Linked DNA regions of Homo sapiens: all the other regions are linked to region 1. The links are contacts of gene promoters, found by promoter capture Hi-C in blood cells and fetal thymus (Javierre and others, 2016). All regions are on one chromosome and are shown on one strand. The core of a region is centred on a gene start or on the middle of the fragment in contact, and the rest is flanking DNA. Distances in the headings are between cores, read along the strand shown.

Region 1 (2,920 bases), core at 184-2,683:
AAATACAAAATGAGCAAACATTGGTTGAGTGCAGTGGCTCATGCCTGTAATCCCAGTGCTTTGGGAGGTCAAGAGAGGAGGATTGCTTGAGCCCACGAGTTTGGGTCCATGTCACCTACCTGGTCTTCTTCCTTTAAATCGCTGTCATTTTCACTCACCCTTCTAGAAAGAATCTTGTCATTACATTGGGCAATTTCTATGTTTTGTGAGGGAACTCAACCATAAAATTCATTCTGCAAACATGAAGAATGTCCTCTAATTTTTAGCCTAAATTTATTTCCCCAGAGACAAATGTGTTTTCCTGCAGTTTTGTATTTTGAATGTCTATTAATAAGAGTTTCTCTTCTGAAGTCCAACCTTTGCAGGACAGTTTCATTTACTTGTTTACACCACACCTTGTTCCGGGAAGGATTTAAGGTAGATGTTGAGGATGGCATTTTTTTTTTTCAGACAGGATCTCAACTCTATCACCCAGGCCAGACTGCTGCAGTGGTGCAATCTCGGCTCACTGCAACCTCCGCCTCCCAAGTTCAAGCGATCCTCCTGCCTCAGCCTCCCTAGTAGCTGGGACTACAGGCATGCATCACCACGCCCAGCTAATTTTTGTATTTTTAGTAGAGACAGGGTTTCACCATGTTGGCCAGGCTGGTCTCAAACTCCTGACCTCAGGTGATCCACCCACCTTGGCCTCCCAAAGTGATGGGATTACAGGCGTGAGCCACCACGCCCAGCCCATTAATTATTTCTCACAAACCATTCCAACCCCTTTACACTAAGCTTCGTCAAAACAGAACTATTGTTAATTCTTGAACTCTCCATGGTCTTTAATGTCCTCACACTTGCACATAAGCTATTCCTTTCCCACTCAGCCAACTCATTCATCCTGCAGGATGGACTTCCAATGAAGCCTCAGTGACATCTCCCACCCTTCCAAGAGCAAAGTGAGGGGTTCCTGTTGCATACTCTCATCACCACATGAATGAGTCTCTACAACAGTAATTTCCACATTGTATTGTAGTTAGTTGACTCCCTCAGTTCAGAAGTTACTCTTAATTACAGCACCCAGAACAGTCCTGGCACATATCTGGTGCTCAGTAAGTGTTTGTAGGATCCGTGGATGAATGATTGAATGTATAGAAGGATGCACAGGTGAATGAACGGATGTATCTTTCCCTTTTCTGTGGACACTTCACCTCTGGTTTGAACCCAGGACAGCTCTTCTACCTACTGTCCTGCCCCCTGCAAAACCAAGTCCCCAAAGCCACAGCCCCACTCACCTGAGAGGCAGAGAAGGAGTAGAGCTGGGAGCAGCCACATGTTCCTGTCTCCTTGGCTTCCGTCCTCAGCAAATCTAGGTCCCAGCTGGAATCCAAGTATATGTAACGGAGCCTGGGTCATCCACTTTCTACTTGTCCAAGTTTCCTTTGTGTTCTCACTCATCTATTTCCTCTTTTGCCTTTTAAAGAATGCTTCCTAATTTTAAGCCTTACTTAGCAGAAGAGAAAGGGTGGCAAGAGACGTTTCTGAGAATGGACCAAGCACAAACAGGAAAATCTGTTGGCCTTCATTTAATGTGAACGTAATGTTTGAGTCACCCCCTGAGATTTCATGACTCGGAATTTCATGAAAGTCAGTCCCAGTTTACGAAACCTCTCCAACAGAGAAAACTCTGTTCCCTGCCTCTTTCACTCTTCTTCCTATCTGGGATTACTTCATCGATCTAAGGAGCTTCCCTTCTCTATGGCTGCCTACTTTTGAATCATAAAACACCCTCTACTTAAGGAGCTGTGGTGATCACTCCCCATGTCTTTCTCAACCGTTATCTCCATGCGGATGACTTCACACCTCTTCCTCTAACCCAATATCCCAATATCTCTCCTGGGCTCCAGATCCTACTTTCTAACTTCCTATAGGGAAGCTCCACCTGGTTATACACTGTTAACCTAGTTCAGTATATGGGTCATGGTCAACAGCATAGATTCTGAAGTCACACAAACTCAAATCTCATCTCCATCATTTATTAATCATCTGACCTTGGGCATGTTGCCAAATCACTCTCCTCCTCAGTCTCCTCATCTGTAAAATAGAGTACTCATGACAATTCTTTCTCAAAGGGTTGCCACAGGAAATAAATGAGTTAATGTAAGTAAAGTGCTTGATACAGTGCCTGGAACATAGTAACTGCCCAGTTAATATTAAATACCTTTAGAATAGTCCTGGACCATTGAAATAGCTTCTCATCTGGTCCCTCCACTAGCTATACATTCTCTCTAATCCAACTTGCACATCAGAAGATACTCTTCTCTAAGACATAGCTATCTGAAAATATAATTTCTTTCCTTCTCTTTCCCCAGAGATACCCATCTTTGATACCCACAGCCTCTAATCTTTACTATCTTTTAGAACTCTACTGGATCATCTGATATTTCAAACTTTTGTTGTAAGAGCACAACTTCTTATCTTTTCTGTACCACCATATCTGATGAAGTATTATATAGCCAGGCATGGTGGCACGTGCCTGTAATCCCAGCTACTTGGGAGGCCAAGGCAGGAGAATCACTTGAACCCAGGAGGTGGAGGTTGCAAAGCAATGAGCCAAGATCACACCATTGCACTCCAGCCTGGCAACAGAGAGAGACTCCATCTAAAAAAAAAAGAAAGAAAGATGAAAGAAAGAAAGAAAAAGAAAGAAAGAAAGATAGATAGATTATATATAGAATAGAGCCCTGGATGGAACAATAAAACACCAGGACCCTGGTCCCATGTGTGACATGAGCCACACACTTGAGGGATCCAGAATGAGCAGAGCTGACAGTAGCCACAACATTGTGTCTTAGTCCATTTTCTTCTACTATAACAGAATACTACAGGCTAGCTAATTTATAAAGAACAAAAGTTGGCAGGTGCAGTGGCTCATGCC
Region 2 (2,920 bases), core at 242-2,741, 240 kb before region 1:
CGTTTGGTTTGCTCGCTTGCTTTTTTAACGGGAGTGTCTGTACCCTTCCCTAGGTCCCAAGAATAACTCTGCAGATCTTGGCTTCCCAGCCTCAGGATTGTCCCCAGGGACCAGGACAAAGGGCTTGGTCCTATTGGCTTGTCTCCATGGCGCCTCCCTTCTTCTTCTTCCCAGGTGAATGGATCAGCTCAGTTAGACCCAAGAGAGCCTCATGCTTGTCCTAGACCTCATTTTCCCGACCCAGTGGCATTCCAGCCACACCTGCTGAGGCCTTGGGTACCTGCGCATCAGAGTAGCAGCTCCTCCAGCTGGCAGAGAAAGACTTGATTTGCCACAGTTAGCGCGGCCCACTGTGGAAGCAATCCAGGGTTCGCTCACCACCCAGCCATGCCAGCTGATGCTGTTTTGATTCCCCTAACCAGGGGCAGTCACTTTTCTAGAACTTTCTGTGTCATGAACCCTCAAGGGAGGCAGCTAATGCAACCCTTTCCCAAAGGGCCCTCTCCTAATACCTGCAAATTATAAGGACACTATTTGACTTGATATTATTTCTGGAGGAAAATAAAAGTCAATAAAGGCACATAAACTGCTCTGTGATTTGAGGCAAAATGAATACAAAAGCCAGGCCCTTCTGCCACACCCACTCACCACGTGATCTTAAGAGAGTCGTTTCTAATCTCAGAGTCTCAGTTATCTTGCCTGTAAAATGTGGAGGTTGAGCTACATTAAATCTATGGTCACTTCTCTTACCCAGCTTCGTCCAGGCACGGTGGTTCACGCCTGTAATCCCAGCACTTTGGGAGGCCTAGGCAAGCGGATCACTCAAGGTCAGGAGTTCAAGACCAGCCCGGTCAACATGGTGAAGCGCCATCTCTACTAAAAATACAAAAATTATCTGGGCGTGGTGGCGGGTGCCTGTAAGGGCAGGCGCTGAGGTGGGAGAATCGCTTGAACCCGTGAGGCAGAGGTTGCAGTGAGCCCCGATCTCGCCACTGCACTCCAGCCTGGGTGACAGAGGGAGACTCCGTCTTTAAAAAATAAATAAATAAAATAAAATAAATGCTACCAAACTTACAATTCCCCGTGAAGCACCTAAGCCTTAGTTCAGAGTAGAAGCAGGAGAAACAGAGCTCACTGATGGGAGGCACCTAACAGAATACAGACAGCCTGTGAGCATCTCCATGTGCCAGGCACTGGGCTCTGTGTTTTTTTGTCTGTTTTTCTTTATTTAGAGATGGGGTCTCGCTATATTGCCCAGGCTAGTCTTGAACTCCTGGCCCCAAGCAATCCTTCGGCTTCTGCCCCAAAAAGTGCTGGGATTACAGGCATAGGCCACCACACCCACCTCCCAGGCTCACTTTCTTTCTTTCTTTTTTTTTTTTTTTTTTTTGGAGATGGAGTTTTGCTCTTGTCACCCAAGTTGGAGTGCAATGGCACGATCTCGGCTCACTGCAACCTCCGCCTCCTGGGTTTAAGCGATTCTCCTGCCTCAGCCTCCCAAGTAGCTGGAATTACAGGTGCCCACCACCACGACTGGCTAATTTTTGTATTTTTAGTAGAGACGGGGTTTCACCACGTTGGCCAGGCTGGTCTTGAACTCCTGACCTCAGGTGATCCACCCGCCTTGGCCTCCCAAAGTGCTGGGATTACAGGCGTGAGCCAGCACACCCCGCCAGGCCTAGTTTCTTATATGCACTGTCTCATTCCATTCTCACAATAACCCTACGAGGCAGGAATTCTTGTTATTTCCATTTTATACATGGACATACTGAGGGCCAGAGAGTTTAAGCAATTTGACCAAAGAACACTAGTTAGTGGGGAAAACAGGATTTTAATCGGCCGGTTGCTCTCTGCCTTCTGTACATCTCGCCATTGTGTGCAAGGCATAGGGAGATGCTAGAGTTAGCAGAGCCTGGATCTAGAAGGCAGGTTCAAGGTGAAGTCAGTCAGTCTTTTGTGTGTCTCAGCACACAGGAGCACATACCCCTTAACTCTAATGCTGGGAGTTAGATAAAAACGATGAGTAGTTTGGTGTGGCCGGGACCTAGTGGGTAGAAAGGGGGTGATGGAAGATAACGTTGGAATGATGGGCTGGTACTGACACTGAAGGTCTTCATACAGCACACTGAGCTCCTGATGGTTCTTAAGGGTATGTTCTAGAAAGATCCTGCTGGTGGTATTAGGGAGGATGAACTGAAACATCAGGAGGCCGGAGACCCCTTAGGAGGCCAGAGGGATAGCCCAGGCGAGAGACAGGGAGGCCAGGGAGCAGCTGGAGGGCTACCAGAAGCCTCTGCAGGGTACACTGGGTTTGGAGGAGACCTGGGGGCAGAGGGAGGGAATGCTCACACCCTCTGTGGTCCCTGGAACACTTCTAGCAAGAAGGAGGATTGTGCAAGAGGCTTAGAGAGAGAAGCAGCAGCGCTCCACTCTGTCATGACATAATCCCCTAGGAGATTTGAGAATGGGGGCTTCAGCTACCCCTCCCCGTGAGCATCCTGTGTCCATGGGGGCTTAGCCCTGGGTCCAGAGTTTCAGAGGTATCCCTCTGGGCTCTGGACATGTACCCAGAGGTGGTCGGAAGGGAAGGGTGATTGAGATGGACAGAGAGGCACTGCCCTGGCCGGCCTGGTAGCCTGGCCCCACCCTCTGAGGCTCTTCTTGCTTGGGCCCCCTTGCCCCACTTCTTTCTTTCTTTTTTTTTTTTTTTTAAGACAGAATCTTGCTCTGTCTCCCAGACTGGAGTGCAGTGGCACAATCTCGGCTCACTGCAACCTCTGCTTCCTGGGTTCAAGCAATTCTCCTGCCTCAGCCTCCATGTAGCTGGGACTACAGGCGCCCACCACCACGCCCAGCTAATTTTTGTATTTTTAGTAGAGACAGGGTTTCGCCATGTTGGCCAGGCTGATCTCAAACTCCT
Region 3 (2,920 bases), core at 298-2,797, 240 kb after region 1:
GAGCGGAGAAAGGAAGGGTGGCTATGCCAGGCCTGGCTGCCGAGCCCCATCAAGCCCCCAATGAGGCCCCTGAGCAGGGAGCCGTCTCTGCAGCGCCACCTGGTGATGGTAGGGGAGCTACGGCCAGAAGGTGACCCCCGACCCCAACCCTTCCAAAAAAAGTCCCCCATCAACCATGGCTCTTGGTTGCAGCTGTTTTATTTCCAGCATGTTCCCAACCTGGTGACCCTCCACAGTCCAGCAGTAGAGAGATGGGTAAGGGGTTAGATCGGCCCACACCTCCACCTGTCCCTAAGGTTACCTCAGTTGCTGAAAGCTAAAACCTTGCGCGCAAGGGCGACCTTCCCCAGGAGGGAGGAGAGACGCTGGAAGAGCAGCCAAGCCTCCAAGCCAGGGCCGGCCGGGATCAGCAGAGGTGCAAAGTCCCACTCAGACGGACCCAGCCCTTCCCCTCCCAACACTCATCCCTTCCCTGCTGGGGGCCGGGGCTGGGGCTGGGCTCAGTGGCCCAGGAGGCGCAGCATCTCCTGAGGATCCACCAGCTTCTCCCTGGGCTTCCCCGTGCCCTGGCCCCGGGCCACCTCCTCGGCATCCAGCTTCTCCCAGTCTGAGAAAGAGACTGGCCGGACCCCTGAAGCAGAGGGGAGATTGTCAACACCTCCTCCTTCACCCCTCCCAGAACAGCCCCCTCCCAAAGAGTGAGGCCCAGAGAAGGACCACCCACCCCACCTCCCAGGACCTCAGCATCGGGGCCCAGACCTCGGCTGCTGAGCAGGGCCTGGATGGCTGCGTAGCCAGGCCTGGGGCCAGAGGGGAGCAACCCAGCCTTCAGGTCCTGCAGCAGCATCTGGCCGGTGAGGAAGCTGTCAGTCATGGTTGTGGCTATGACACCTGTAGGTCCTCTCTTCACCCAGCCGCTGCAGTAGAGGCCTGAGAGGGGGTAACAAAAGGGGAAGGGAGGGAGGTGGCTGGATACCACCCTGGCCATCCTGTGCCCACAATCTACACCCACGTGCACGCACACAGACACCCCACGCCTCTTGGCAGACTGTCGGCTGAGCCTGCTGTGGCCGCTGGTCCACTGCCCTGGATTCTTCTCTCCCTGTTTTTACCAGGCCGACCCCCTTACACCTCAGTTTCCCTGTAGATGAGGGGATCCCTAAGCTTAGGAGCTGAGGCTTGCTCCCCTGCAGTTTCAGTAGGCCCTTGGTAAATGTTTACCAAGTGAATTAATCACTAGATAGGTATGTGGGCACTTAGTAAAACTGGAAGCTCCCTGAGGACACAGGCTGCCTTATTAATCTCCAATCCCAGCACTAAGCACAGGGCCTAACCCAGAAAAGACCTCAGTAAACGTTTGTTGAATGACTTAATGACCCGACGTATGTCACATATGTCCTAGCCAGACTGGAACTTCTCTCAGGGCCAAGAGGAGGGCGGCACTGGGTCCTAGAGAGGGCCTGCCCTGCAGAAGCTTCTCAGTACATGTTGCTAGATGAATGAACGCATGGCCCCAGGAGATACCAGCTTCTCGGCCTCTCACCATAATTCAGCACCCAGCCTCCTCACACCCTCTCACCTGGCACATCCATAACCCGGCCCTCCACATTGGGGATGACCCCAAGCTTGGAGTCAAAGGGCACGCTTGGGTCGACAGGGCGGCTCTTATACCCAATGCTGCTGAGCACCAGCCCACAAGGGAGGTCTTCCATGTCTCCCGTGGGCACTGCACGGGTGGCCTCATCGACACCCTGTTGGGGAGAGTGTGGGCAACACCAGGCGGGTGGCAGAGGCCTGGGAAGGGGGTGTCTTTGGGAAACATGAGACTCACCTCCAGTCTAGTGACTGCTAGGCGGACACCTGCTGCCCGCCGCCCATCTGGTGAGGGCAGCACCTGCTGGGGGCTTCGGAAAAAGCGGAGGCCCCAGGCACGGGAGGCCGATGCCTGGCGGGCAGCTTCCGCCGGCCCTGGCTTCTCTGTGGCCGTTCGAAGCAGCAGTTCCGTCAGCCGCTTCCTCGGGCGGGGGACCTCTGTCAGCAACGTAGAATGTCTCCAGGCTGTCCCTGGGCCCCGGCCCTCTCCCTGCATGCCCTTCCCCAATCCCTCTCTGACCTAGGCCACCCTCTCCCTAGTAGTTGGGGGGCCAGGCCAGGGCCCCTCACCCTTGATCTTGTCCTGGAGACCCAAGAAATCCACAGGATCCAAAATGGGCCGGGCTCCCGGTAACTGAATCATCTCCCGAAGCTCCTTGAAGGTGGGAGCAGGGAATGGGGGAGGAGGTCAGGCCCAGAACACAGTCCACCTGAGCCCACCCCAGGGTCCAGCCCAGGCAGGAGAGACCACCACCCGCCTCCTCCCCAAAGGCACAGGGCCCCCGGGGCCCTGACTGCTCCCCTTCTTCCATCCCAGGCAGCAGCTACTCCCAGGGGCTCTGCCCCACCCCAACCCCTTAAGGAGAGGCCCCCTCCACCTGGAACCCTGGCTCCTCCCACTCTGGCCCCAGCACCTTAATGGTGAAGGCCACTTGCAGGGGTCCACGCCGGCCCACTAGCCACACTGTCTTCACTCGACTCTGCCTCAGTACACCCAGGGCTGCCTTCGTGATGTCCGTTCTCTGGCACAAAAGGAGGGCCTTGGAGTCATCAGACACTGACCGAGGAAAGGGGACTCTCCATTTGGTCATGTCCCCACCGTGGGCCTGGAGAAGGCTGGCGGCTCAAAATTGCGCCACTGCTCCCCCCTGGTGGCCAGATGGAGCATTGCTGCCAACTCTGCAAATGGCTCCAACTAATAGCACACCAGGCCCACACTTTCATTCAACAAGTATGTAGTGGGCCTCTACCATGTGCTCACCCCCATGCAAAGAGCTTGGAGGGGCGGGGTGGTCAATGGTGAGGAAAAGAGACAAGGAGCAGGCCC
Region 4 (2,920 bases), core at 258-2,757, 190 kb before region 1:
TGTGTCAGCCAGCAGCTGCAGCCTCCCTTTGCAGACTCAGCTGATACTTGGCAAACTGAATTCTTTTTTAACTTGCTCTGGACTTGGGCTCAAAGGGCTTTGATTCACACCATCTTTTCTGCCTTGCACGTCCCTCTCCTTGTTCCCTTCACCTGCTCAGTCCTTCCTCACATTCTTCAGGGCTTAGCTTTTGGGTGTCCCTGTCTCTTGGCAGTGTCTGGGACCTGGTATGTTTTTTTATTAGATTCTGAGTAAAACTCTGCGGAACAGTCTTTCTCTACTCTGCCTGTTTCTCTTCTGTGTTCCTGTAGCCCCTGTCTCTCTCCTGCAGGTAAATTCCGTTGTGTGGCCCTTAATCATATTCTTCCTTGTGTAATTTTTGTGAGTACCTACCTTATCTCTCTTGATAGATTTTAAATGCCATCAAGTCAGGGACTACGTTTGTTCATGTTTGTATTTTCCACAGCTCTGGGAACAACAGGGCCTTTCCTTCCCAGGCGCACAGTCAATATTTGCTGATTTGGAGTAATTGCCTGTTCTAAACTGGGCCCTGGCCGAGGGAGGTGGGGTGAAAAGCCCTTGAAAGTGCAGGTGTCCGGAGTCTAAGTGGCAGTTCTGAGGGTTCTCTTCCCTACGTCCAGCTTCAAGCCCAAGTTCTGGCTGGTTTGGCTGTGGAGCCCAAGATGAAGTTGAACATTTAGGATCCCACAGCTTGTTGTTATCCATAAATTATCTCCCAGGAGTGGGTCCATATTACGCCTTCCCTTTTTTGTTGTTGTTGTTGTTGTCGTTGTTGTTTTTGGTTTTTGAGATGGAGTCTCGCTCCGTCACCCAGGCTGGAGTGCAGTGGCGCAATCTCGGCTCACTGCAATCTTCTGCCTCCCAGGTTCAAGGGATTCTTCTGCCTCAGCCTCCTGAGTAGCTGGGATTACAGGCGCACGCCACCACACCTGGCTAATTTTTGTATTTTTAGTAGAGACGTGGTTTCAGCATGTTGGTCAGGCTGGTCTGGAACTCCTGACCTCGTGATCTGCCCGCCAAAAGTGCTGGGATTACAGCATGAGCCACCGCACCCAGCCTACTCCTTACCTCTTAGCCCTCTCTTACTCCTCTTTCCAGCACTTGTAAATAAAATGCAGTTGGTGCTTTATTGATTTACAAAGTCCCCTACAGAAGCTTATTTAAGTCCTGCATTAGAAGTAAAGAGAAACTAGCCATTAGAACGCCAGTTATTTAGGAAAACAACAGTACATTTACATGAGATAGTTAATTTTAAGAGTTAATCTTAAGCAAGCTTAATTGAAAGATGAGGTAGCTGAGATGGCTAAGACGACCTAAATATTTTCAAGTGGCATGGAGACTATTTGAAGGGACTTTGAAAATGGATCCTCTTTATTGTGTCCATTTCACTTAATTTTATGAGTTGCATTGCCCCTGATTTAGTAAGTGTTCTTTCACATAACAATTATGGACAGAATTTTTTTTTTTTTTTGCTTCTGTGTTGAAAAGAGGGACAATTTCTATCAACTGTGGGATTTAGGGCTTTTGTTTGCCTATTAGAAATTAAGTAGCCAGGAATGGTAGAAAACAGTAAGGAGGTAAACCATGTATAAACAACCTCACAATCCCCCTAAAAAAGGAAAAAGGGTGGCAGCCTCACAGAAGAGAGTTAGATAATGCCATTCCCCTGCCAGCCACTAGTGGTCACTGTCAGACCAGGAAAGCTTGGTTGCTGTTTTCCCAGAGAGTTCCTGATGAAGCTGGGTTACAACTAGTTATTTGAACACGTGGGGTGACTTAAATGTGGACTACCTGCATTCATAGAATTTTGAAACGTATAACCTGTTTCTTTAAGCATTTAAATTTTCTTTTTCTTTTCTTTTCTTTTCTTTCTTTTTTTTGGAAACAGTCTCGCTCTGTTGCCCAGGCTGCAGTGCAGTGGTGCAATCGCAGCTCACTGCAGCCTCGATCCCCTGGGCTCAGATGATCCTCTAACCTCAGCCTCCCAAGTAGCTCAGACTACAGGTGCATGCCACCACACTCTCTGCTAATTCATATATATATATATATATATATATATATATATATATATATATATATTTGTTGTTGTTGTTGTTGTTTGTTTTCATACAGAGTCTCACTCTATTGATCAGGTTGGAGTGCAGTGGCGCAGTCTTGGCTCACTGCAACTTCCACCTCCCGGGCTCAAGCAATTCTCCTGCCTCAGCCTCCTGAATAGCTGGTATTATAGGCGTGCACCTCCACGCCCGGCTAATTTTTGTATTTTTAGTAGAGACGGGGTTTCACCATTTTGGCCGGGCTGGTCTCGAACTCCTGACCTCAAGTGATCCACCAGTCTTGGCCTCCCAAAGTGCTGGGATTACAGGCGTGAGCCACTGCACCCAGCTGCTAATTTTTGTGTTTTTTATAGAGACGGGGTTTCACCATGTTGCCCAGGCTGGTCTCAAACTCCTGGACTCTAGCAATCTGTTCACCTTGACCTCCCAAAGTGCTGGGATTATAGGCATGAACCACCGTGCCCAGCAGCATTTAAATTTTCAGTGTTAGGTTTCCTCCAAGTACATTTAAAACTTTTGATTGGAAAAAAACTCATTGATTTGGTCTTTAATATTTCTTAACCTGTTAAATCCATTACCTCCACTTCACGTGGGAAAATCCAATTGGTATTGGGAGCAGGAGTTTGGTTTTCTTCTCTGGCACAGATCTGTGGCATTTGGTAGAGCGGCAGTCAGTAGATGGAGTGAAAATTACCTTGCTGGTGTTAATAAAAGCTAATTTTCTTGCCTTCTAGCTACAACGTCTTAAAGTCTTCTATTAAAGATTAATTCCTTTGGGTTTTGCATTGCCCTTGCCTGGTTCTTACTTTTAAAATGTTAATGCTCCGAAGGAAAATTTTTGC
Region 5 (2,920 bases), core at 316-2,815, 160 kb after region 1:
AGAAGCATGAATATCCGTGTCCCAAAGGACAATGGCGAGGACCTTGAGTCACATGCTCAGTGATCTTGGAAAAGTGGGTGTTTCTTTGAGGTCAGCATTATGCGCTCACCTTTGTGCCAGGTACCCCGCCTATGATGCTCTGTCCCCGGGAAGCCTACAGCCTGGTTGAGTAGAGCGCTAGCATCTGCGATGCAGCTTTAGGAGGGGACGGCAATGATGACAGCAGGAGCAGAGACTGAAACTGAACCCCAGGGCTTGAGTCATCCATGTGTTCATGTTTGGTTAACAGGCTCTGTGGTTGCAAGCCTGGCTCCTTAGGCCCCAGGTGTAATTCTCCTGTCCTGCCTCCTTCCCTGTCTACAGTGTGGCCTTCTGGCCTCCACAGTGGTGCCATCACCAGGGTCGTTCCTTGGGAGCTGTTAAGGGGAGAAGTTGATTAAGTTCCGGGCTTGAATGTTGCCTCTGTCGGTTCCAGGTTGGGCTGGTGTACATGTTTAACCTCATCGTGGGCACGGGCGCACTCACCATGCCCAAGGCATTCGCCACTGCCGGGTGGCTTGTCAGCCTCGTCCTGCTGGTGTTCCTGGGCTTCATGAGGTGAGAGGCAGCGGGGACTTCCCCACAGGGGCCAGGAGTGGAGCAGGAGGGAGTCAGCCCAGGAAGCCCGAACATGAGGGCACTGAGGGGGTGGGAAGACACCTGTCTACCCCGTATCGAGCTCAGTGAGTCCTTGCCAGGGTATTCAGAGAGGGGAAAGTGGTCACAGAGGCCTCCTGGTGGCTTGTCTTTGTGGAGCGGTTGCACAGCCCTGATCAGATAAAAACCTGGACATCCACTAGGCTTTGGAATGTTTCACGTGATGCTGGCCTATTTCTTCCCTGGCAGGTTTACCTCCCTGCTATTAAATGTATGCTTTATTAACATTACCATCAAGTTTTGCTGTCTGAGAAAATACCACCCAGCCACAGAAAAAAGATCTAACAAACATTTAAGGTGACATGGGAAATCAGTTTGGAATTTAGAATTTACTTAAGGTAATTCACGAAGTAGGTGATAAACACACGCCTGGGTGCACGATCAAGTGTGGCACTCGCCTGCTGTGTACCTCCCCAGGTCTTCAGGGACGCCTACTCCTTGAGCCAGGTGTGTGGGCCTCACCAGCCGGTGCTTCAGGGAGGGTGGGTTCCACCTGAGGCTCTTCTCGGGGATTCCCACACACGTAGGGACTAGTCTGAAGTTGTCAGCAAGTGCCCCAGGCCAGGAAGGGGTTTAGGACTAGGCATTTCCATTCTCTCAACCGGGTAGGAATCCACAAGCTGCAAAAAAGAGATGGGAAGGAGCACCTGGAAACACCTCCCCTGAGAGGTGACCCTGCCCCATCTGTGCACCAAGCACCCTTCTGGGTACTGAGGGGGCCTCACCACAAAGATCCCTGCCTGTGCAGACTTGACTTTATGTTGTGGGGAGAAGTGACAGCGAGCAGTGAAGATAATAAATGGGTAAATGGAAGAGTGAGCCGGAAGGCAGTGAGTGCTGTGGAAAGAGGAAGGCGTAACAGGGCGAGGGGACTAGGATGCCGGCTGAAGCAGGGTCAGGGAGGGCTGCATCTAAGCAAGGATCTGAAGGGGGAGGGAGTGGGTGCGGGCGGAAGGATGAGACGGAGCTTAGTAGTTGGAGCAAACTAAGACGTACAGGAAGCTGAATGGGATAGGAAAACGCCCATGGTTTTCAGTTTCTTCATGCATTTCTTTTGGGGAGTTTTGAGGGTGAATCTTGGGGCACTATTGGTTCATTATCTACAGTGAGCCCTGGCAGCCAAGAGCTCTAGAAGTCCTTGTCCTTACATGACTCCGCTGTCCCCTTTAAAGGACCTTCAGCACAGGCAGCCATCTAATGGGAAGTGATCATTCTGGGCTCCCAGGCAGGGGGTACCACACCCCGCTCCTTGCTCAACCCATTTGTGTTTGAACGTGATCGATGAGTTGGCCTTGCGCAACCATGAAAAGTCTCTTTATGCCTTAATTAAGATTGATTTTAATTTCACGTCCAAAAAGAAGGGTAAATCCAAAGCCCTTAAAATGGTCACTTAGGCAAGATAATGAGAAACCTTTCTAGGAGGTGCTGAGGCGATTGGAATGGGGGTTTCAGAGCTGGCTGCTCCCCCAGAGTGGGAGTGAGTGTGGGTTTAACTGGTGTGGGGCCAAGTGACCCCTCTGCCTCCTGCCACCTGACGTCAGGGTGAGCAGTCAGCCCCCCAACCCTTGTCAACACTCAGGGAGAGGCAGGGGTGAGTCTGCTGGCAGAGTTGTCCTGGCCTCAAGAAAGCAGGAGATGGGCCGGGCGCGGTGGCTCACACCTGTAATCCCAGCACTTTGGGAGGCCGAGGCAGGTGGATCATGAGGTCAGGAGATCGAGACCATCCTGGCTAACAAGGTGAAACCCCGTCTCTACTAAAAATACAAAAAATTAGCCGGGCGCGGTGGCGGGTGCCTGTAGTCCCAGCTACTCGGGAGGCTGAGGCAGGAGAATGGCGTGAACCCGGGAAGCGGAGCTTGCAGTGAGCCGAGATTGCGCCACTGCAGTCCGCAGTCCGGCCTGGGCGACAGAGCGAGACTCCGTCTCAAAAAAAAAAAAAAAGAAAGCAGGAGATGAATGTTCGTCCCATGCTGTTCCACGGCAGAGATGGATTCATACCTCAGGTTTTATTAGCAGGAAGGCAGCCCACTTCTGTATCCTCCGTTAACAAAAGCATTCATGCATTCCAGCTGTCATCTAGGTCTCTCAAGTATCCTTTTTTTTTTTTTTGAGACAGAATCTCGCTCTGTCACCCAGGCTGGAGTGCAGTGGCACGATCTCGGCTCACTGCAACTTCTGCCTCCCGGATTCAAGCAATTCTCCTGCCTCAGCCTCCCAAGTAGCT
Region 6 (2,920 bases), core at 279-2,778, 150 kb before region 1:
CCTGTAATCCTAGCTACTCGGTAGGCTGAGGCAGGAGAATCGCTTGAACCCGGGAGGCAGAGGTTGCAATGAGCCGAGATCCCGCCACTGCACTCCAGCCTGGGCAACAGAGCAAGACTCCATCTCAAAAAAAAAAAAAAATCAAAGAGTTCTAACCCAAGGAAAGAAGAGCAAGCCCCCATCCCCACCATCCTTGAACAATATGGGGCCTAATCACAGAATTACAAGGGCATTGAGACACTGCACACACAACTGCCCAGCAGGCCTGTGCCCATCTGCCTGGGGCAGGGGCCATGTGTCCTCTGCTTGGCAGCCAACACTAGCTTCGAGCCATCACCTTACTCTCCTTGCTTTGCATCTGATAATTATTTGGGAAAATGTCAGACATAATTTTCAAGGAAGTTCATTTATTTCCGAGATTTAAGTCTAGGAGAGCTGGGCAAACTAAGGTAAGACACAGGATGAAAGTTTTCGTCAGCAAGCCTTCTGCGTTTGTGACTCTTTTTTTTTTTTTTTGAGACAGAGTCTCACCCTGTCACTCAGGCTGGAGTGCAGTGGTGCCATCTCAGCTCAACATAACCTCCGCCTCCAGGGTTGAAGCGATTCTTGTGCCTCAGCCTCCCCAGTAGCTGCAATTACAGGCGCATGCCACCACGCCCAGCTAATTTTTGTATTTTTAGTAGAGACAGGGTTTCACCATGTCGGCCAGGCTAGTCTCGAACTCCTGGCCTCAAGTGATCCACCCACCTTAGCCTCCCAAAGTGCTGGGATTACAGGCATAACCCACTGTACCCAGCCAGTATTCTTGTCAAAATGGCTTGACAACCCTATTACTGCCCGGGTTTGCCCCTTGGTGGGACCAGATCAGTGTGTGGGCCGGTCTTCCTCTTGCAGGGTTGCCCAGGGCTGGGGTGGCCCTCCCGGGAGTGCAGGTGCTTAGGGGTGAGTTCTCATGCTCCTGGCAGGTTTGGAAGCAGGAGGCCCCTGGTGGGTGAGAGGGGTGGGAAGGGTAAGGGAAAGGAGGCAGGGGGCTGGAGAAAGGGGCTACTATGAGCAAAATCTTGAGGGTGGTAGAGCAGAAAAGAGAATACTCAAGCTGTGATCTGGCTGATGGGGCTGATATGAGGTGAAGGAGTCAGGGGCTGAGGGCTGGGGGTGCTGATGTGGAGTCGGGGAATCTTTGGAGGAGGTGACTCCAGGGCACCCAGCCTGAGCTCTTCCGGTCTCCATGGAAAGCCTCTGCCCCATTCCCACCTGTGTGCGGAGGTAGCCTCTCATCCTCAGTCCCCGCTCCTGGGTGGACAAGGCCTCTCTGCCTGCCGCTGCCTCCTCCACACCCCCAGGGTCCATGCGGCCCTGACCCCAGGGCACCCCTGACCAGGCTCATCTGAGGAGGAGCTGGGACTCTGGCTTGTGTTTTCCAGGATGTTTTGCTCTGAGCAAATGCAGGACCGTGGCGGGCCCCGTGGGGGGATCCCTGAGTGTGCAGTGTCCCTATGAGAAGGAACACAGGACCCTCAACAAATACTGGTGCAGACCACCACAGATTTTCCTATGTGACAAGATTGTGGAGACCAAAGGGTCAGCAGGAAAAAGGAACGGCCGAGTGTCCATCAGGGACAGTCCTGCAAACCTCAGCTTCACAGTGACCCTGGAGAATCTCACAGAGGAGGATGCAGGCACCTACTGGTGTGGGGTGGATACACCATGGCTCCGAGACTTTCATGATCCCGTTGTCGAGGTTGAGGTGTCCGTGTTCCCGGGTGAGCCCCTCCTTCCCTCAGCGCCTAAATAGGCTCAGGTTGGAATTGTTGGGGCAGGAATCAGATCAGAGACGTGAAGCAGACAGTGTGTGTGTGTGTGTGCGTAAGAGAGAGAGAGGTGGGGGCCAGGGGAACACAGTCAGGGGGTCTCTCCTGGAGCAGCTGACATGTCTGCCCAGTATTGAAGAAGGGAAGGGTCCAGTGACAGGGAGGCTGAGAGAGCGTTGCCTGTGAAGGAGCCAGGAGCGCACCTGTGGCTCAGCCCCAACGGAAGTGCAGCTGAGTGGGGGAGGGGTGGGGCTGAACAGAGAGGCTGGGGGGCCAGATGGGAAGCTGCTGTCCTCAGGGGGAGCCTTACCACATGACAGGTCAGATTTGCAGTGTAGACAGACTCCTCTGCAGCATGGAGTTTCGCAGGAGCACCTGGACCCTCATCAGCAGGATGGAAAATCAGGACCACTGGGAGTGGCACCCGTGTCCTGTTCAGAAATGCCCAGTTGGCCCAGGAGGGTCCTGGAGAGACTCTAGCCCCAGGGTCCTGCATCCTGCCCCCTTCCTTAGTGGGCAGTTTGTGTGAAATCAAACCAAAAAGGCATCCTGAGTGGTGGGAGAGCCAGAGGACAGCTCCCTGGGTCTGACTTGTGGTTTTGCCACCAGCATCAACGTCAATGACACCTGCAAGTATCACTGCGGCCAAGACCTCAACAATCACAACTGCATTTCCACCTGTATCATCCACTACCCTGTTTGCAGTGGGTGCCACCCACAGTGCCAGCATCCAGGAGGAAACTGAGGAGGTGGTGAACTCACAGTAAGCACCCTAGCCCCTGAGACATGGAGGGGGCCCTGTGCTAAGAGGAGGAGCCCAGGGCGGGGACCTTGGCCATGTGGGCCAGCTGGAGGTGTGCATCGCTCCCTTTGCCCCAGGCCCAGGTTGGAAGCCATAGTCTGAACACCCCGGCTTGGACCTGCCCTTGGCTTTGGAAGGGGGCTCAGGTAGGGGGGAAGTTGGGGGGCAGATGGAAGGAAAGTGATAGTTACTGACAGCTGGTAACATCCTACGAGGCCCGTGTTAGATGCTTCACATGAGTATTCTCACTTGCCTTTCACTGCAGCCCTGTACTGTTGTCATTCCGTGTATTAGTCTGTTTTCGCAC
Region 7 (2,920 bases), core at 188-2,687, 150 kb after region 1:
ACACCAGCCTGCCTTTGAGGTCACATGCTGAGCCGCATTCTGTTCTTGTGACCTGGCTTCCCTGGGCACGGCCCCAACGGAGCCACCTCACCAAGGCTGAGGACCAGGGAGCCTAATGAGGGACTGACTCCCAACTTCCTGCCCCCACTTCTCTTTACAGCTGAATTCCCAAGACAGCCCCCCAAAACAGGACTCCACAGCGCCCTCGTCTACCTCCTCCTCCGACCCCATCCTAGACTTCAACATCTCCCTGGCCATGGCCAAAGAGAGGGCCCACCAGAAACGCAGCAGCAAACGGGCCCCGCAGATGGACTGGAGCAAGAAAAACGAACTCTTCAGCAACCTCTGAGCGCCCTGCTGCCACCCAGTGACTGGCAGGGCCGAGCCAGCATTCCACCCCACCTTTTTCCTTCTCCCCAATTACTCCCCTGAATCAATGTACAAATCAGCACCCACATCCCCTTTCTTGACAAATGATTTTTCTAGAGAACTATGTTCTTCCCTGACTTTAGGGAAGGTGAATGTGTTCCCGTCCTCCCGCAGTCAGAAAGGAGACTCTGCCTCCCTCCTCCTCACTGAGTGCCTCATCCTACCGGGTGTCCCTTTGCCACCCTGCCTGGGACATCGCTGGAACCTGCACCATGCCAGGATCATGGGACCAGGCGAGAGGGCACCCTCCCTTCCTCCCCCATGTGATAAATGGGTCCAGGGCTGATCAAAGAACTCTGACTGCAGAACTGCCGCTCTCAGTGGACAGGGCATCTGTTACCCTGAGACCTGTGGCAGACACGTCTTGTTTTCATTTGATTTTTGTTAAGAGTGCAGTATTGCAGAGTCTAGAGGAATTTTTGTTTCCTTGATTAACATGATTTTCCTGGTTGTTACATCCAGGGCATGGCAGTGGCCTCAGCCTTAAACTTTTGTTCCTACTCCCACCCTCAGCGAACTGGGCAGCACGGGGAGGGTTTGGCTACCCCTGCCCATCCCTGAGCCAGGTACCACCATTGTAAGGAAACACTTTCAGAAATTCAGCTGGTTCCTCCAAACCCTTCAGCCTCCGTGTGTTCCTTGGAAGTTTTGTCCTCTGGCCTTGGACCCCTTATAGGTAGAAATTGAGAAATGGTAAGCCAAGGTGGTCTTTGGCTGGGAGGGTGGGGTACACTGGAGGGAGGGCCATCAAGGGCTCCCTGTGACCCCAAGCCTGGGTAGCTTTAGCTAGAGGGCCTAGCTGCAGTCCTGTAGGAAGGAAGATGCATGCACCCAGCCGGGTATTCAGCTTGGTGTGGTCAGTGTGCCTGTGTGCTGGGCTGCAAGCACCGATTGTGGGCTGGGGACCCCTTGTCTAACGGGGATATTTACAAGGGGAAGTGGGAGCTCAGACCAACGTTCTCAGAGGACTCTGGGAGGTTCCTTTAATTCCAGAAGCGTGGAAAGTGTGTCCCAGGATGGAGCTGGGTTTGGAATGTGAGGACTTGGCTTTACTCTTTCTGCCTATAGCCAGTGGGGTGCAGAATTCCCAGGGGCAGGCTGGGCTGGTGCCAGATCCTCTATCTTATCTGGCCATTGTGACCTGATTGGAGGGCAAGTGTCCAGTGCCAGGGGAAAACAAACCGGTCCACTGAGCCCGGGGACATGCTGTGTGGCTAGCTGGGGTGGAAGGGACTGTTCAAGGGCAAGGTGCCCTGCCCCCAACAAAAGACCCAGGTCCCTGATACCTTTGGCACCTGAAGCCTGATCTGGAGGTCCAGGAAGGTGGCTTGCAAGAGCTAGGCTGCAGAGCCGGGAGGTTCCGGGCAGGTGCTCAGGAGGAAGGTGCCCCCAGGCTAGTCTCCACCCAACCCAAAGGGACACCTCTCAGAAAATAGGCTCCTGGGCTGAGGGGAATGAGTAAAGCAGGTAGATCTGGAATCAGGGAGTGGACAGTGTCCCCCAGGCCAGTCACTATCTGGCCATCTCCTGCTCCTTGTCAGAGGAACCATCCAAAACCCTTACCACAGCAGTGCCCTGCTCAGCTGACCTGCCCCCACCCCACCCTTGCTTCTACCCTTTGGCCCCTGACAGATTCCCCTCCACAGGGGTCGTGGAGGGCCCCTCCCTATCTCACCTGCTGGGTGGGGAAGCCCTGGGGGACCTTTGACTCTTCATTAACCTGAAGACTGGTGGAAGGAATGGGTGGCCCCAAGGGAACTCTCATTGCTGAGGTACACATGGTACGAAGGGAGCCACGGCAAGCAACGCGTTCGTTTTATAATGTTTGTTTTATACTGAGGCATGTTTTCGGTTCCAGTTGTTCACATGCAGTCTGCTGTGAGACTCCAAGATCAAGGGTGCTGGGAGGCCTTAGGCAAGTCACCTTACTTATCTAAGACTGTTTCCCCACCTGGAAGATGCCCTACAAGCCTCCTGTGGCTGTGTTTAGAAAGCATGCCCGGCCTTTCTTGACAGCCAGCCACCCCAGATGATGGCAGGGCAAGGAAGACTGTTAGGAGTCAGAGTGCTCCCCTCAGGTGGAAGGAAACTGGGCCAACTCTACTTTGTAAGCCATAGGGTGCCAGGTAGCCCGGCCACCCTGAGCCTGTGCCTCCACTGCCCCCGCGTGGCCAGTCAGGTGCAGCTGCTCCCAGAGATGGAGGGTGAGGAACAGACGTGGGAGCACCAGAGGGACAGAGCTGATGGCCTGACGCTCTCTTCAGGAGGGCACCCCCAAGGGGCCTCTGCTTCCTCAGTGCCCCCTGAGCTTTATCAGCAGAGGGGTGTTTTCCAGCCACAAGGAGCTGTATCTAACACTAATGCCTTTAAACTCAAGACTGGCTCCAGGAGAGAGGAGGACGGACACTAGGTTGAGGGGCCAGGCCACACTCACTCTGGACCACCTGTTGTTCCCGGGTCAAGTTCCCAGGGTCACACCAGCCTGCCTCTG

The links. The method cuts DNA at HindIII sites, captures the fragments that hold promoters and counts their contacts. A CHiCAGO score of 5 or more calls a contact.
Region 2: a fragment that was not itself captured here is called in contact with the fragment with the promoter of CD300E in region 1 in 5 of 17 cell types (monocytes, M0 macrophages, total B cells and 2 more); the score reaches 7.4 in monocytes.
Region 3: a fragment that was not itself captured here is called in contact with the fragment with the promoter of CD300E in region 1 in 1 of 17 cell types (naive B cells); the score reaches 5.5 in naive B cells.
Region 4: a contact is called between a fragment that was not itself captured here and the fragment with the promoter of CD300E in region 1, in 5 of 17 cell types (M1 macrophages, monocytes, megakaryocytes and 2 more). The highest score is 6.9, in M1 macrophages.
Region 5: a contact is called between a fragment that was not itself captured here and the fragment with the promoter of CD300E in region 1, in 1 of 17 cell types (monocytes). The highest score is 5.8, in monocytes.
Region 6: a fragment that was not itself captured here is called in contact with the fragment with the promoter of CD300E in region 1 in 1 of 17 cell types (monocytes); the score reaches 5.1 in monocytes.
Region 7: a fragment that was not itself captured here is called in contact with the fragment with the promoter of CD300E in region 1 in 2 of 17 cell types (monocytes and naive B cells); the score reaches 8.1 in monocytes.

Annotation. Positions count from the first base shown.
Region 1 is chr17:74,622,305-74,625,224 of GRCh38, forward strand. CD300E (CD300e molecule) reads right to left here and starts at 1,434. Exons shown (of 4, transcript NM_181449.3): 1 at 1,278-1,434. The coding sequence starts at 1,317. All of the region lies in intron 3 of LOC101928343 (a long non-coding RNA gene), which reads left to right. The HindIII fragment of the contact is 4,294 bases long and covers 776-2,920 here.
Region 2 is chr17:74,380,953-74,383,872 of GRCh38, forward strand. It overlaps LOC124904055 (a long non-coding RNA gene), which reads left to right. Exons shown (of 2, transcript XR_007065898.1): 2 at 54-590. Among named protein-coding and RNA genes, the nearest start is that of GPR142, 15 kb to the left of the region's middle. The HindIII fragment of the contact is 6,854 bases long and covers 1-2,920 here.
Region 3 is chr17:74,862,317-74,865,236 of GRCh38, forward strand. It overlaps FDXR (ferredoxin reductase), which reads right to left. Exons shown (of 12, transcript NM_024417.5): 7 at 2,508-2,615; 8 at 2,164-2,248; 9 at 1,832-2,031; 10 at 1,580-1,751; 11 at 760-930; 12 at 181-631. The coding sequence ends at 501. Among named protein-coding and RNA genes, the nearest start is that of GRIN2C, 3.9 kb to the left of the region's middle. The HindIII fragment of the contact is 151 bases long and covers 1,473-1,623 here.
Region 4 is chr17:74,436,153-74,439,072 of GRCh38, forward strand. The region is part of intron 1 of GPRC5C (G protein-coupled receptor class C group 5 member C); the gene reads left to right. Among named protein-coding and RNA genes, the nearest start is that of GPRC5C, 5.5 kb to the left of the region's middle. The HindIII fragment of the contact is 430 bases long and covers 1,293-1,722 here.
Region 5 is chr17:74,785,007-74,787,926 of GRCh38, forward strand. SLC38A12 (solute carrier family 38 member 12) reads left to right here. Exons shown (of 10, transcript NM_017728.4): 3 at 476-597. Among named protein-coding and RNA genes, the nearest start is that of SLC38A12, 10 kb to the left of the region's middle. RefSeq lists an enhancer at 1-407. The HindIII fragment of the contact is 4,883 bases long and covers 1-2,920 here.
Region 6 is chr17:74,472,112-74,475,031 of GRCh38, forward strand. It overlaps CD300A (CD300a molecule), which reads left to right. Exons shown (of 7, transcript NM_007261.4): 2 at 1,425-1,763; 3 at 2,421-2,574. Among named protein-coding and RNA genes, the nearest start is that of CD300A, 6.9 kb to the left of the region's middle. The HindIII fragment of the contact is 3,644 bases long and covers 1-2,920 here.
Region 7 is chr17:74,768,308-74,771,227 of GRCh38, forward strand. NHERF1 (NHERF family PDZ scaffold protein 1) reads left to right here. Exons shown (of 6, transcript NM_004252.5): 6 at 161-1,046. The coding sequence ends at 349. NAT9 (N-acetyltransferase 9) reads right to left here. Exons shown (of 7, transcript NM_015654.5): 7 at 2,222-2,920. Among named protein-coding and RNA genes, the nearest start is that of NAT9, 6.6 kb to the right of the region's middle. RefSeq lists a silencer at 2,598-2,697. The HindIII fragment of the contact is 7,456 bases long and covers 1-2,920 here.